Regions from separate parts of the Homo sapiens genome. Here region 2 is linked to region 1. Evidence: promoter capture Hi-C in 16 types of primary human blood cells and fetal thymus (Javierre and others, 2016). All regions are on one chromosome and are shown on one strand. Each heading gives the region's core, a stretch centred on a gene start or on the middle of the fragment in contact. The rest is flanking DNA. Distances are from core to core; before and after follow the strand shown.

Evidence for each region. Contacts are between HindIII fragments. The CHiCAGO score rates a contact against its expected background, and 5 or more counts as called.
Region 2: a contact is called between a fragment that was not itself captured here and the fragment with the promoter of ACSL6-AS1 in region 1, in 7 of 17 cell types (M1 macrophages, total CD4 T cells, total CD8 T cells and 4 more). The highest score is 9.6, in M1 macrophages.

Annotation. Positions count from the first base shown.
Region 1 is chr5:132,000,130-132,007,486 of GRCh38, forward strand. It overlaps ACSL6-AS1 (ACSL6 antisense RNA 1), which reads left to right and starts at 3,444. Exons shown (of 2, transcript NR_183256.1): 1 at 3,444-3,682; 2 at 6,191-6,907. All of the region lies in intron 1 of ACSL6 (acyl-CoA synthetase long chain family member 6), which reads right to left. RefSeq lists an enhancer at 1,625-2,220. The HindIII fragment of the contact is 3,713 bases long and covers 2,222-5,934 here.
Region 2 is chr5:131,766,306-131,773,662 of GRCh38, forward strand. The region is part of intron 1 of FNIP1 (folliculin interacting protein 1); the gene reads right to left. Among named protein-coding and RNA genes, the nearest start is that of FNIP1, 27 kb to the right of the region's middle. The HindIII fragment of the contact is 1,276 bases long and covers 3,850-5,125 here.

The sequences.
Region 1 (7,357 bases), core at 2,194-4,693:
TCTGCTCCCCACCCCCACAAGGTCACAGCCAATCTACTTGGGAAGAGGAAAGAAATGGCACAGTTCCAGATAAAACATCTGCTTAGGGATGCTCTGGGGAGTGAGGACACTCTGGACCAAGGATCAGAGCCAGCAGGTGGAAGATAGTGGCTGATCTCCACCACAAGACCCCAGGGCAGCACACCAGCCCTGCTCTCATGCCTGCACTAAGAGATACTGTTGCCTAGTTTGCATGGGAATGGTCACCCTGGAGCCAGAACCCACACCCTTGCCTATTAGGACCGAAGCTGAGCTCTGAAGTCCTGCAGCACCTCTGCCAGACTGAGAGACTGAGGTCCCAGGGGCTCTCGGGGGTCTCACTACTGCAAGATCTGTGAGGCTTAGGGGTGTGGGTGGCTACTTCCATAGCATTTTCACTACTATTTCCATGGCTAACATGTGGCTGAGCACACAAGTATGATCACTGCGTATTTTGAATTGGACACTCATTCTGATCATAAGGTAGACAGCTAGACTCATGGTGGCACCTGCTAATAAGTAAAAGACAAGTCTAGGCCACAGGAGCCAGCTTACTACCACCCCCAGGCCCTACCCACATCAGGTGCTTCTGGGCAATTACGAGTCTGCCTGCACTGGGCCACTGTCCACCCAAATTTAACCCTGCTCCCTTGCTGCAAGAATGTCCCAGGACAGGACCCAGTGCTCTGAGCTCCCTCTTGAAAGCTGTTTGCCCAATTGCCTGGCAAGTCTAGAGCCCACAGGCTTGCAACACCTTCCCTGGAGCAGATAACAGCTTCCACTACTCACCCTACCATCTGGGTGAGCCATGAGAAGAGCGTCCTGCCTCAGCGACCCTCATCTGGAACTTGGCCCTAGCTTCCCCCAACCCACCCCGATTAAAATGAACGAATATCTGAGCACCCCCGATCAGCCCACAAAGTCACTTCACCTTTCTTCTAGGCAGGACCCTTACTTTTCTCCAAATATCTTCAGAGATGCTTTTAATATGAAAGCTTCCTTTAATGCTTCTCAAGGCAGCCTCTGGGGCAGGAAATCCAGTGGTCTGTGGGAAATCCCACAGAGTGCCAGAGGCATAGAGCTGAGGGAGTAGTTTCACCCCAAGCAGTGTGCAGCCCAGTTGCCAGGTTGAGAAATGCACAGCCTTCACCATCACACATGTACAACCCTGACCTGCAGAGGTGCAAACACAGCAGCGCACACTTGCCCAACACCTGCCCTCTCCACACAGGGATTCAAGCTTCTCTCTGCTGTGAGAGAAGGGTTTGCTCTCCATTTTCCTCTTGGGTTTTAATTAGATTCACAGAACCACATAAGACCAGGGCAGAAATGGAGCAAAGAGCCTCCCTGACTTGGGAATTGCCAGGTGGGACCCACTGTACATCCCCCATGAGATAGAGGCCCAGGATACGATACGGGGTTGCCAGGTTACATGGTGGCTCACCTGCCAAGCTTCCCCAAGGAGCCTGATCATAGCTCTGATGGTTCAATTAAGCCCCTTGAATGTAGAAAGGCCCAGCTAAGGCTGGCTGTGACTGAGTACTTTACAGAGCCACCTGTTGCAACTAGCCCAAGCTCACTGTGAGCATGCCTCCCTTTAGCAGCCTCCACTGCCCGCTGGCCTCCCCATCCTCATGACAGTACCTCTCAAAAATCTCACTCACCCTAAGCCCTGCTCAGGGAATGTGGGTCCACATTCCTGATGCTAGCACCAGGAAGCCAGGCACAAACAATGCTTTCAGGAACTTTAAAATATGAATAGCCTTGAGAACAGAGGAGCAAACAGATACACAGTGTCTTTCACACGCTCTGAGATAAACGTTGCCCTCACCATGAATTAGGCAGGACAAAGTTCTCAGAGCAAAGAGGGACAGCAGGGGCTAAAAAAACAGCAGTAGTCCCTTTGGAAATATTTACAGGGTATGATAACCAGGACTGATGGTGTGGACGAGTTCAGATCCTTCCACGCCAAGCCCTGGGACAGCAGGCAGGACCCTAGGAATACTGACCAGGGTCACCATCACCTCACAGGCACAGGGACACTCCCTGGCCAGGCCCTCCTGTGCAGGAAGCCAAATCCTGTGGCTGTAACACGATCCTTTGCCTTTCCGGCCATGTCCACGTTAGGACTGCTGGTGTCCCGGCCTCAGGAGCAATGATTCATTTCTGCCACTGGCTCAAACTTAGGACACACTGCAAACTAAGCTTGAACCAGTAAAGGGCATATGGGCTGCTCATGGCGAGGCCATGCACTCAGAGCTCAACTGCAGGTGGCTGGGGTACAAGCAGGATGGGATGCGACCTCCTCCAGCTAGAGGGAAGCTCCTTGAAGTAGGGAGGGTCCTGCCAATATATGGTTGGGGGTCACTGAGGTGGGGGGAGCAACAGAGGGATTTGCTTGCCTGCTTGTTCACTTAGGAGCCCTGCTGGTCTCCTGGGGACACGTGCTAGGGGAGAAATGCACAAAAGACAGAACCTGAGACATCCTTAGCCAGGGAGGGAGAACAAGGAGAGGATCCGAGCTGGGTGGGAAAGGGTAGAGAACAGGGCTATCGAAGAGGGACAGAAGTGGGTTGGTAAGTCACAGGAAGAGCCTGTAAGATGTTGGGGCCCCTGGCAGGAGCCCTCACACAGTGGCGGGAAGGAGGCAGAGGCCTGTCTGCACTGAGGACTGGGGCAGGAAGCTGAGGCTGGCAGGATGGCACTTAGCTATGGGAGAAAGGAAAAAGATGGTGATGGGTACTGTATATCTGCCTCATGCCTTCAGAGTCACAGCCCACAAGCTAATGGCACTCAGCCCTGGGGATGCAAAAGTGCCCCAGGCAAGCTGTGCTCCTACATCCTTGGCAAAGGGATTGCTGCTGCAGCCAGGATCCGGCATGGCTCCTTCACCTACCATTCCAGAGTCACTGAATTTTTTTGTAGACTAGAAAGTGAGCAAGACAAAAAGAGTTTTGCCCTTGGTTAAGGGCACATTTTCTGGCAAATTTGGTAAATAGCTGAATATTCTGGCATCCCCATAGTCTGACAAAATTCCTCTTCTGAATGCCTCAAGAAGAAACAAATCTGAATTTCCTCCAGTTTAGCAAAAGGCTGTGCTGGTCAACGGGAATCTGCCACCTCCTGAATCCCCCCTCTGGAGGTCAGGCGGCACAGCAGCTGCAGCCTTAAGCTGCTCTCCCTCCGGCAGCAAGCGGTCAAGTTCTGCTGTTGGCCTGTGAGAGCCTACAGTGTCCACAGAGTTAACATTAGACTGGAGCGGCCCAGCCCTCAGCGGGCAGGAGCACTGGGAACTCAGGCCTCCTTTTCAAGGCCAGGATGAATGGGAAATATGCAAATGGCCGCCTCCCAGGAGCGGCAGGGGAGGGCCTGCTGCTGGCAGGAGGGCATCACTCCACTTGGGTCTGTCACATGAAAGGGTTTGTATTCCTGCCGCTGGCCGGCTCCTGGCCAGGCTGGGGCTGTTCTCACCAGAAAACAAAAATGTCTTTCAGACCAAAGCAAAACGAGGCCCCAGCTGGCCCAGGCAGGCCATTGGGCGTTGTTCACACTGACCCACTATGAACACCAATCACTGGGGCTCTCACTTTGCACCCACTGGAAGGAACCCATCATCTTTGGAGACGGAACTGGAGGCCTCGGTGGCTGCTGAGGAAAGCACTACGTAAGTTCGGGGGGATGGAGGTGGGATCCAGAAAGAGGGTCAGCCCCCTCTGAGGCTCTGTTGGTTTTGTGCTTTTCGAAAACAGTAGTGGCGGAATCTGGAGTAGCACCCTTTTTTTGGATAAGGAAACTTCAGTTATTCTCACAGTGTTGATGGTAAACATGGAGAAAGAAATGGGAAGAAAAAAGTGCTGGTACACAAGAAGACCCTGCAGTGCACAGAGAGGACTTTCAATAATGGAGGGCACGTGTGTCCTCTGCCTGGTGCCCACACTCCTGCTGCCACAAGTGCCCTCGAGTGGGAGGTGGGGATAAGGGCAGCCCAGAGCCCCATGTGCGGGATCACTAGCTTCCAGGGCTGGGGCTCCTTCTTCAACCAAGGCTCCATGCCAAGGTCAGGCTTCTATCCTTTTTTTTTTTTTTTGGCTGACTTTCAGCAGCCAGAACACTGCTTCTCTGACACCCCATGGTCACCAGGAGCTGCCTATTAACCACAGCACAGACCTTGTGCCCTGTGGAGCATGGATGCCACTCAGACTCCCACTACCAGGAGAAATAGCACAGCAAGATCTCAAGCACACATGTGGCCGTTGAGCCTGAGAGGACATCTAGGACAAAACCACTTTGGAGTTGATTTTGAACCAACAGGTGGGTTGGTGGATGCTCCACAGATCTCCTGAAATCCAAGGGAGATATGTCTTGTCAGCCTCTGGGGCTAAAGGAAACTGGTATTCGTTTGGGCCACACAGTATCTTCATGAAGCCAAGGTGCCAGGCATGTCTCTGTGAGAGGTCATGGAACTGTCCAGGGAGCAGAAGCAGGAGACAGAGGAGACAGGACACTTCAGAATGACCTAGAAAAGTTGGTTCCACAGGTCATAGCCTTCCATATCTGGTCTGTGGCAAGGAGATCGGGGACACATGCACCCAAATCCCCTACCAGCCTACTGGATGGGGGAAGGCCCAACCTCCATTTCTCTCTAAACCCTCCCTGCCACCACAGACAGACCTAGGCTTAGGGGAGTTGGCCTACAGAATATGCATGAGTTGGCTGGGCATGGTGGCTCACACCTGTAATCCCAGCACTTTGGGAGGCTGAGATGGGTGGATCACCTAGATCACCTGAGGTCAGGAGTTTGAGAACAGCCTGGCCAATGTGGTGAAACCCCGTCTCTACCAAAAATACAAAAAAATTAGCCGGGTGTGGTGGCAGGCACCTGTAATCCCAGCTACATGGGAGGCTGAGGCAGGAGAATCACTTGAACCCAGGAGGCAGAGGTTGCAGTGAGCCAAGATCACGCCATTGCACTCCAGCCTGGGCAACAACAACAAAGCTCTGTCTCAAAAAAAAGAAAAAAGAAAAAAAAATGCGTGAGTTGAAGGTGTCCTCAGAGAATCACATCCAGCCCATCTGCTGGAAAGCACAGTCACGATGAACACTGAAGTTCTCCAGCCACTAAGCAGGGTCCTGGGGTCTATGTGGCTTCATGCAGCATCAGCTCTAGTGGCAGGGCAGAGTGGCCAGAGCTTCCCTTCCAAAGCAGAGGGGTCACTGCAGGCCTGGATGGGTCTCCACTGAGTCTACTTTCTCCATACTGACAATTGTCTTCCTCTCACTGGCCTAAAGGCCTTAAGGCCTTACTCCAGCCAACCTCCCTGTCCAATCTCACTGGCCGGCTCACATGCCACCTTGCTGATCTCTGTCCCAGCTCTAACTGTCCTTGCTGTGTAGCCTCTAGCTGCCCTTTCTATCCAATATCTAGTTGACCTCACTGTCTCTCCCAGTGACATTTCTGCCTGTTTATGAGGCAGGATCTGCAGTCAGTATCTAGAATGGTCTGCAGCAAAGCTAAGGCTGGGACAGGGGTGCGTGGGCAGGAGGAGTCCCACGGGGGAGTCTCAGCCCCTACAACAGTCCATGAGTTGGAGGGAAAAGCAGAGCTTTGTAGCAGAGCTGAGTCTTGATCAGTCCCTTGGAATCCACATCCTGCACTGGTGGGCCAGGCTGTGCTGAGAGTGAGGCGGGGTCCCAGGCACTGGTCAATAGGGTCTGTCCCAGAGCTGCCCAGTCAACCTGGGCCTACCTACTCACTCATTTCTCCAATAGCTATCAATTACTAAGTCTGTTCCTGGCCCTAACAGGTGCCAGCCCACATTTGCTTATACCAGGGGCTGAGCACTAAGATGCTGATTGTTCCCTCACTGGCCTGGCTTCCTGCTCTAAATTCCCAGGAGACAGTGATCTCGGAACACAAGCTTAAATGGGCAGATGGCAAATCAGAAGCCATTCCCAACTCCCCCAGACGCCCCTACTACATGCCTGGCTTAGGTGCAGGGAGAGGAAGGGTATCTCTGGGAAGAGCTGGCAAATAGGGTCAGGTGAGACTTCTTGGGATTTGAAATCCTTCTGGCTCTGAGAGTATTGGTTGGGTCTCAGAATAGATAGCTCGGCTTGGCTTGAAATTTCTGTTCCAATCCACTTCCCATCTTCCCATTTCTGCCTGTCCCAGGCCCCAAGATTCACATGAATTAGGAGCTACACAAAGGAAGTAGGCCCAGGAATAACCACACCTACCACGGATCTCCCGAGGCAGCCGAGCAAATGATGAGGAACCACCCCTGGGCATCCTGAAGGACAACCCCAAGGGCTCAAAGCAGCATCTCATCCACAGCACTCCCCTAACCCCACCAATCTGTGGACCCAGTGGATGGTTAGTGGGAACTCTGGCGAGGCCAACGCAAGGAATGGGAGCATCACACCAGACCATCCAGTGAGGTGAGGACCTTGACTGGGAATTCCTCTCATCTATGCTTGGCAGAGTGGCCCAAGCTCCCAATCTGTCAGGTGACTGGAACCTTGGAGCTCTAAGGAAGCAGCAGCCCTCAGAGAAGACTCTCTTCCACAAAACTGGTCACCCAGAAGCTGTGGGTTCACTAGTTGATTCATTCATTCATTCAACAAACACTTCTGGAGCACCTCCTTCTATTCCAGGCTGCACTGGTTCTCAGCACACAGGGTTCTCCAGTGAAGGGTAACCTGGCCCTGCCTGCAAGGAGTTTACACCTGCTTTTCCCTACTGCTTCTAACATATTGGCATCATCCCCCACCTGGGCACAGAGCCTAGCATCCTAGCAGGAGCACACTCAAAATCTGTTGTTTACTGATTGACTTGTGGTAAGGAAACAGCTTATAAAACACATTATTAAAATAAATTACGCTCAGGGAATTCTTTAGTTTATGCAATAAACTCTTATGTACCCTGTGTGCCCAACTCTGGGTTGGGGACATAGACATGAGACACCTGGCCCTGCCCTCAAGGAGACCATGGACTTGTGGAGGAGGCTTCTGGAGCACAGGAATAGTGTCACCTTGGTCATCCACATGCCCAGTTCTACCCACACCTCCTTGACATAACCGCTGCACAGAATAAAGCCAATGCTGTTTGGCCTGTTATCCTAGGCCTGCAGAGCCCACCTCTGGCAACCTCACTGGCCCAGCAGAATTGGTCCTTCAACTTCATTCAGTCCTATTGCCAATCTTCCCTCACACAGGTCCCTTGGCCTGGAATGCCTTTTCTTTTCCTACTCCCTTTCTGCATGTCAGAATCCTGGATCCCCTTTAAGGAAAGCCTAATACAAGTTATTATAATTTTAGCTAACATGGCTGGCTGATCATG
Region 2 (7,357 bases), core at 3,238-5,737, 230 kb before region 1:
TGCTGAGATTACAGGCATCAGCCACTGCAGCTGGCCTGTAGTTTTTAAAGCCCTGCCCCTACTTATCTTTAACAAGCAGAGACTTCTCCAATCCAAATGTTTAAATTTCCCCGGTCCCAATCTACAATTCAGTTGAATGCTGGTTAAATCTCCTTCTAAGTTATTTAGCCAGGAAGCAGTCAAGCCCAAATGTCATAGTCTAGAAGGTTTCTGTACTGGTCAGGGTTCTCTAGAGAGGTGGAAACAACAGAATATATATACAGATATATGAGAGGGGATTTATTAGGAAAATTGGCTCATGAGATTACAGAGGCTGAGAAGTCCCATGACAGGCCATCTGCAAGGTGGAGACCCGAGATGCAAGCAGCATGGCTCAGTCCAAATCCAAATACCTCAGAACCAAGGAAACCAATGGTGTAATTCTCAGTCTGAGGCCAAAGGCCTAAGAACCTGGTGAGCCACTGGTATAGGTCTTTGAGTTCAAAGGCCAGACAGCCTGGAGTTCTAATGTCCAAAGGCAGGACAATGTTCCAGCTCCAGAAGAAAGACAGAGGAAATCCCATTTCCTCTGCCTTTTTTTTGTTCTGTCTAGGCCCCCAGCCAACTGGATGGTGCCTATCTATGTTGAGGGCTGATCTGCACTCCGTCCACAGACTCCCACACCAAATCTCCTCGGGAAACACTCTTCACAGACACACTCAGAAACAATGCTCTTCCAATTTCCAGGTATTCCATAATCCAGTCAGGCTGAGACCTAACATTAACCACTACGGCTTATATCACTGCAACTCTACTGCACTCCACTTGAAAGTATCTCCTACTATCAGGCTTAAAAGAAATTTTCTTGGCCAGGCGTGGTGGCTCACGCCTGTAATCCCAGCACTTTGGGAGGCCGAGGTGGGCAGATCACGAGGTCAAGAGATCAAGACCATCCTGGCCAACATGGTGAAACCCTGTCTCTACTAAAAATACAAAAATTAGCTGGGCATGGTGTGCACCTGTAGTCCCAGCTACTCGGGAGGCTGAGGCGGGAGAATCGCTTGAACCTGGGAGGCGGAGGCTGCAGTAAGCCAAGATTGCACCACTGCACTCTAGCCTGGTGACAGAGTGAGATTCTGTCTCAAAAAAAAAAAAAAAAAAAAAAAAAAAAAGAAAAGAAATGTTCTTAAGCAGGTAGGACCATCAGTGACAAGACATCATTTTGTACCAGTTTCTATATAATTCAATTTGATCTTGTAAGCTGTGGAAATTCCTTCCAGATTGACAACTGGTTAATCACAAATTAACCTAAATACCATAGGAAGAAGCTGTAAGAGATAATGAATGTAATAAAACTTCAACCACTTTGCTAAACAAGTGAGTAAATGCCTATTTCAAGGAGTACCATTTTAATGCTGGAAGCCTGTATATATAGTAATCATTTTTCTATCTAAGGAATTATAATTCTCTAATCTGACAGGAAAATAATTCCATGACTGATTTGCTAATCTCAGTTCCAAAGACTTTAGTTATCAATTTAGGACTTATTTGTATCACAAAATCTTGATTAATATTTATATAGGCTGTTTATATCCAATTATTTTTCTCTAACTACATCTTAATATACTAAATGTTGTAAGAACACTAATCTTTAGACTTATTTTGTCACAATAAATTCAACTATACTCAGGGTATTAATGTAATTCTAGTGACTGTAATTTACATTTCAATGACAGGGATAGTCAGCTGCTTGGCCATAGTATTACTATCATCATTTAATCAAATTAGATGTGAAAAAAATACCATAACAAAAATATAAACTATTACCAGCATTAAAGTTCCAAAATTCATTTATATTTATTGTACAATTTAACATGCATAAAATTATATGCACAAAAAATTCATTAACATGAATTCTTGGTAAAAATGGCACATTGGCAAATAGTAGATTTCTACACCATAAGAGCTATCATGTATCATAATATGCTATCATATTTACTTAGTATTTTTCAGCAATACGTATACCTAATTGAAATGTACCTGGCCTATGTGGTTTAACTTTCTGACATTAACTCTATATACCTGTGAACTTAAAAACTACAGCAAAACACTGGAAGAATGTTAAATGAGCTAAAACAATAGAGACCCAGTATCCAAGTTGTTTAACTGGGTCATACACAGTTTTTTTTTTTTTTTAAAAAGGGGGGAACTTGTATAATGTGACTTATTTAAAATAAAAAAACAGGCCAGCATGGTGGCTCATGCCTGTAATCCCAGCACTTTGGGAGGCTGATGCGGTTGGACCACCTGAGGTCAGGAGTTCAAGACCAGCCTGGCCACCATGGTGAAGCCCCATCTCTACTACAGATACAAAAATTAGCCAGGGGTAATGTAATCCCAGCTACTCGGGAGCCTGAGGCAGGAGAATTGCTTGAACCCGGGAGGCTGAGGTTGCAGTGAGCCAAAATTGTGCCACTGCACTCCAGCGTGGGCGAGAGAGCAAGACTTCGTCTCAAAAACTAATAATAAAATAAAATAAAATAAAAACAATGTACCTAAATTAGTATAAGGCCATTACTAATTCAAATTATTTAACTCAAATGACTAAGTGGGGACACACATTTAAGGTGTTCACAAAGCATCAAAAATAATTCTAAATAAATTCAGGTCCATGTCAGTAAAATTAGAGAATACCGTTAACTATAAAAATAACTGGATTATGATCAATACACTAATACAATGTCAAGCTTTTAATTTACATTTTACTTATAAATATATATATGGGATACAAACAGAAAAGCACACTGCTTTCCAAAAATCTGCAGTGAAGGTTCCCATGTAAACATACCAAGAAAGAAGAGCAACAAATGGCAGAAAGAGAATCATAAAATAAACATAAACCAAGGACTAACATACTGTACAGTATTTATGAATTACATATTTTAAAACAATAATTAATACTTGCTTAAAACATTTTCAAGAAGTCATTCTAATAATTAAGGTTATTATCATAATTTAACTTTCAATAAAATAAGTATCTAAAATCTTGGCATTTAAAATTTTCAGATATTTTAAAGCAAATATATCACCAAATTAATAACTAGATTTGGATTATTTTGATGTTAACACACTTGAATATCACATTAAGTTAAGCTCTACATTAGTGGCATCCTATTTCTCTTAAGCAGTTCCACTTTTCAAAATCCCTAAAAACTCCAGTCATGCACAACTGTCAACCCAGGTTAATAACAGCAATGAACCATATTTATCTGAAACCACAAGACTGTCAGATGACATACCAAGAAGTCTGAATTTAACTCAAATAAAAGGCTCTCCATGCTGCAATGCAAAAAGGCTTAATCCCAGCAATGGAACCATGAGGGACCGGGAGCCTTTAAGAAATCTGTTGCCCATGACAAAATCTGTTTTTGCAAAAGGCTCCATCTATCCAGTCCTACCATTTCACAAGTAACATCCTGCTTTTTTGTTTCACTGAAGAGTCTGGGATTTTTACAGAAGCAATTACGACTGCTTTTCAATTCCTTTATCTCTTCTACTATAAGTACATGACTACGAGAAAATCAATCTAAGTATTCTGTTCAACTAAGTGCTGTCCTGGCAGCTAGTGCAGACCAGAAATGCCAATGTATGTATTTTTTAAGGATGCTTTAACTAAACAAGGTCTGGTCCAGAGTAAGAGTGCTCAGGCAACCAATGGCTTAGAACCCAGGTCTTCAACAATCCGTATCTATAACAAATTGAGGTTCATGCAGTAAACAAGAAAACACAATAGTTCCTTTCTCAACTTCTGTATGTCCCAACTCTGCTATTTCAGACAAGTCCACATACACATTCCTGGAAGCCATAGCAAGCTTGTATTCTACCCAGCTGACAAGCAAGTTGAAAAGCAGGCCCTAATGATCACAGGGCCCAGACTGGTCAGTATGTAAACTGGCTCACTAATCTGAACTCTTGTGTTGAGTTCAAGTAGACAAGTCTAGCAGAAAATACTGCCTTTTAATTTATAAACCTCAATAAGACTACCATATTGTAATACATTAAGTAGCTGGTTCATGAAATAGAGACATTTTAGAATGCTTTACAAGCACTGTCTTTCAGTGGGTTTGTATTTTAATATGTATCAGCATGTTCTTTTAGAAAAACCAAGGGGTGCATCTGTGTATGTATCCCGATAGGACTAATTCACTAACAGAAATGCGTTAATACAATGGGCTATTAATCTATAAGGTAACAGACAATATGCTGAAACCAAGAATCATTCCTCACACCCAACATGCCAAAAACAGAAGAATGGGCTCTGAATCAGCCAAACTTAGATTTAAATTCCAACTGTGCCACATACTGATTCTCTGTGATTGTAGAGAAGTGCCTTAACTTCTCTAGTCCTCAATTACTTGTCTATAAAGTAAGACTACCTCTAAGATTGGTATAGGGATAATGTTTCTCTCTTCAACCCTTAGAATGTGCATCACACACATCAAGATCTCCAAAGTGATTATCACGTGAAGAAAAGCAAAATTCAAAACTGTATGTATACCATCAGTGTAGAGGCAAACAAACATATCAGTTTGTTTGTATGTGCACCAAACATTTTCAGGAAAGATGAATTAGAAACAATACAAAGATATAAATTCTTTTTTTTATTATTATACTTTAAGTTTTAGGGTACATGTGCACATTGTGCAGGTTAGTTACATACGTATACATGTGCCATGCTAGTGCGCTGCACCCACTAACTCGTCATCTAGCATTAGGTATATCTCCCAACGCTATCCCTCCCCACTCCCCACAACAGTCCCCAGAGTGTGATGTTCCCCTTCCTGTGACAAAGACATAAATTCTAACTAGTAAACTCAGAATTAACTATTAAAAGATGTAACCCCAAGGAAAAGAAAATTGGAGAAAGGGAAACATCTATGCTTTCTACATTATGATTGTCTGTACCTCTAGTCTGATACTAAAACTTCACATTCATTTCAAGAAGCACTTCTTTGAATCCCCAGGATTGTATATCCTTTCCTCCAAGGAATACAAAATAGCTTAATAACCATCATACTCTTAAGGCAGAACATGATTTGTTTTTCCACTGAAGGGTTTCAGGATAGGAAAGAACTGGCCAGAGAAAAGCTTGATGCCCACTAGCTTGAAAACCAGCAAAGTGCCACAAAACTAAGAAACAATGGATGAAAAAGGAACATGTTCCAAAACAGGAAAACCAGTATTTGAATTAATTAGAAGTTTACTTCTCTAAAGTCAACCTACTAAGTCTACTCATCCAGACACTCAGATCAAAAATCTGTAAGTCCTCTCAATTCACTTATAACAGCACCCAATCATACTAGTTCTCCTTTTACCTTAAAGAAAAAAGCGTTCCTCTCCCTCTCCACGTCTACAGAGTTGATCCATCCCTTCTAGTCTCCTGTTAAATCTTCCCTATTCCTTATACCTCTGATTTGTTTCTTTCACCTATTTATCTTTAAAAAGTTTTACGTTACTGTCACATTTACCTTCCCTTCTAAACCAAACATGAAAAACAGTCCTAAGCACAGCCTCTTATGTTCCATTCCACCTACGCACATTTGACACTATGACCTCCTTGCACTCTACTCCCTAGTACCATTATCTCATACCATGAGACGGGAGTCCAAGAAATTACCATTTCCTGGCTATCCTTCTGAATTCAGATATATTAGGGTTTGTAGCCCAGGTAGGTGTGTTTCTTAAAACCTTCACACATACAAAGGAATACTACTTTGCAACAAAAATACACTACTGATACATGGAGGAATAACATGCATAGAGGAATGTCAAAGGCATTTATACTAAGTGAAAGAACCTGATACAAAAGGCTACACAATGTATGATATCATTTATAAGACATTCTGGAAAAGGCCAAACTGTAGGGATAAAAATCACATCAGTTCTTGCCAGGGGCTCGATGTGGGGGAGAAGAGAATCACTAAAAGGTACAGGGAACTTTCTGGGGTAATATTCTATATCTCAACTGTAGTGTTGGTTATATGACTATACATTGTCAGACTCATCAAACTGCAAACCTAAAAAAGAATAAATTTTACTGCATGTAAACTGTATCTGAATAAAACAAATTCAAACCAAAAAAAAAAAAAAAAATTACTGTAATGATCTAAAAGTGATTGATCTAAAGGGTAAAATTTCAAAATCTCTCACCCCAATTGCCTACTAAGAAAACTGTTACCTGAATCTCAGCCTACCTCAAACTTACTAAGTACAACTAAATTTCTCTATCTTCTCCACCATGCCTACTCTTCCCTCCTGCATTCCTTACCTTAATAGCTCTATGTTTTGGCACTACCATGGCCCATGCACCAGTCTCCCAATTGGGTAGATTGAGGCCACAACTTCTTCTCCTTCACATCCCATATTCAGTCAAGCATAGAATCCTCTTCTCCCAGATATGGATCGCTGTTTCCCATCTCTCTGCTACCATCATGACCCTGCCCTCTCTAACCTGTAATAACTGCAACAGTGCTTCACTGGCCTCTGCTTCTAATTTCTTCCCACTCTGTCCCATTTTTCTGTCATGACATCAACTGAGATAACTTCCTAAAACACAAAGCTGATTGTACCATATCATTGTAAGTTACCAGTTGCCTAGTATACACAAAACTCTCCTTATAATCTGAGCCCCAGCATTATCTCAACCTCTCATCTCTTGCCATTCCCTTAAATGTGTATCTTGACTCTCAATAATCATCAAACCTGTCATACCCTTCCTGATGCTATTCCTATGAGCATGCCTCAATTCTGAGTACCTCTTCCTTACTTCATCCAACCTGAAAATTCCAATGTATACTAAATTTAGAATACAGCTCAATGCTACCTCTTCTAACAGAAGTAATCTCCCATATATACCCCCAAATTATTTATCTAGCTCTATTAATAACTAACTGTTTAATGTTTACTGGACACTGTGAGATTATAAAAATGTAAAGATAAATGAGACAAAACCCCTGCTCAGGTTTCAATTATTATATAACTACCCACTGAAGTGTCAGTCTCACAGCCTAAACTAAAGCTCCTAGATCAGGGATTCTTAACATGCAATCTGCTGACCCACACAGATCTGTGGTTTGGTGTGCCTGTCAACTTGGATGGGGAATGAATTGTAGTTAGAGATTTCCACCAATCTCTAACTACCATTTAGCGTTTCCTTCTATTAAAATGCAGGCAACAAACTTCAGAGGTATAAGGTTCCTATAACTTTGATCACCAATAGGAATCATAGATAGTTTCATCATTGTACAGCTGATGTAGATACCTAGAAAAATGTGTTTATGCACATCATTATTCAAAATTACAATACTTATTAGATCCA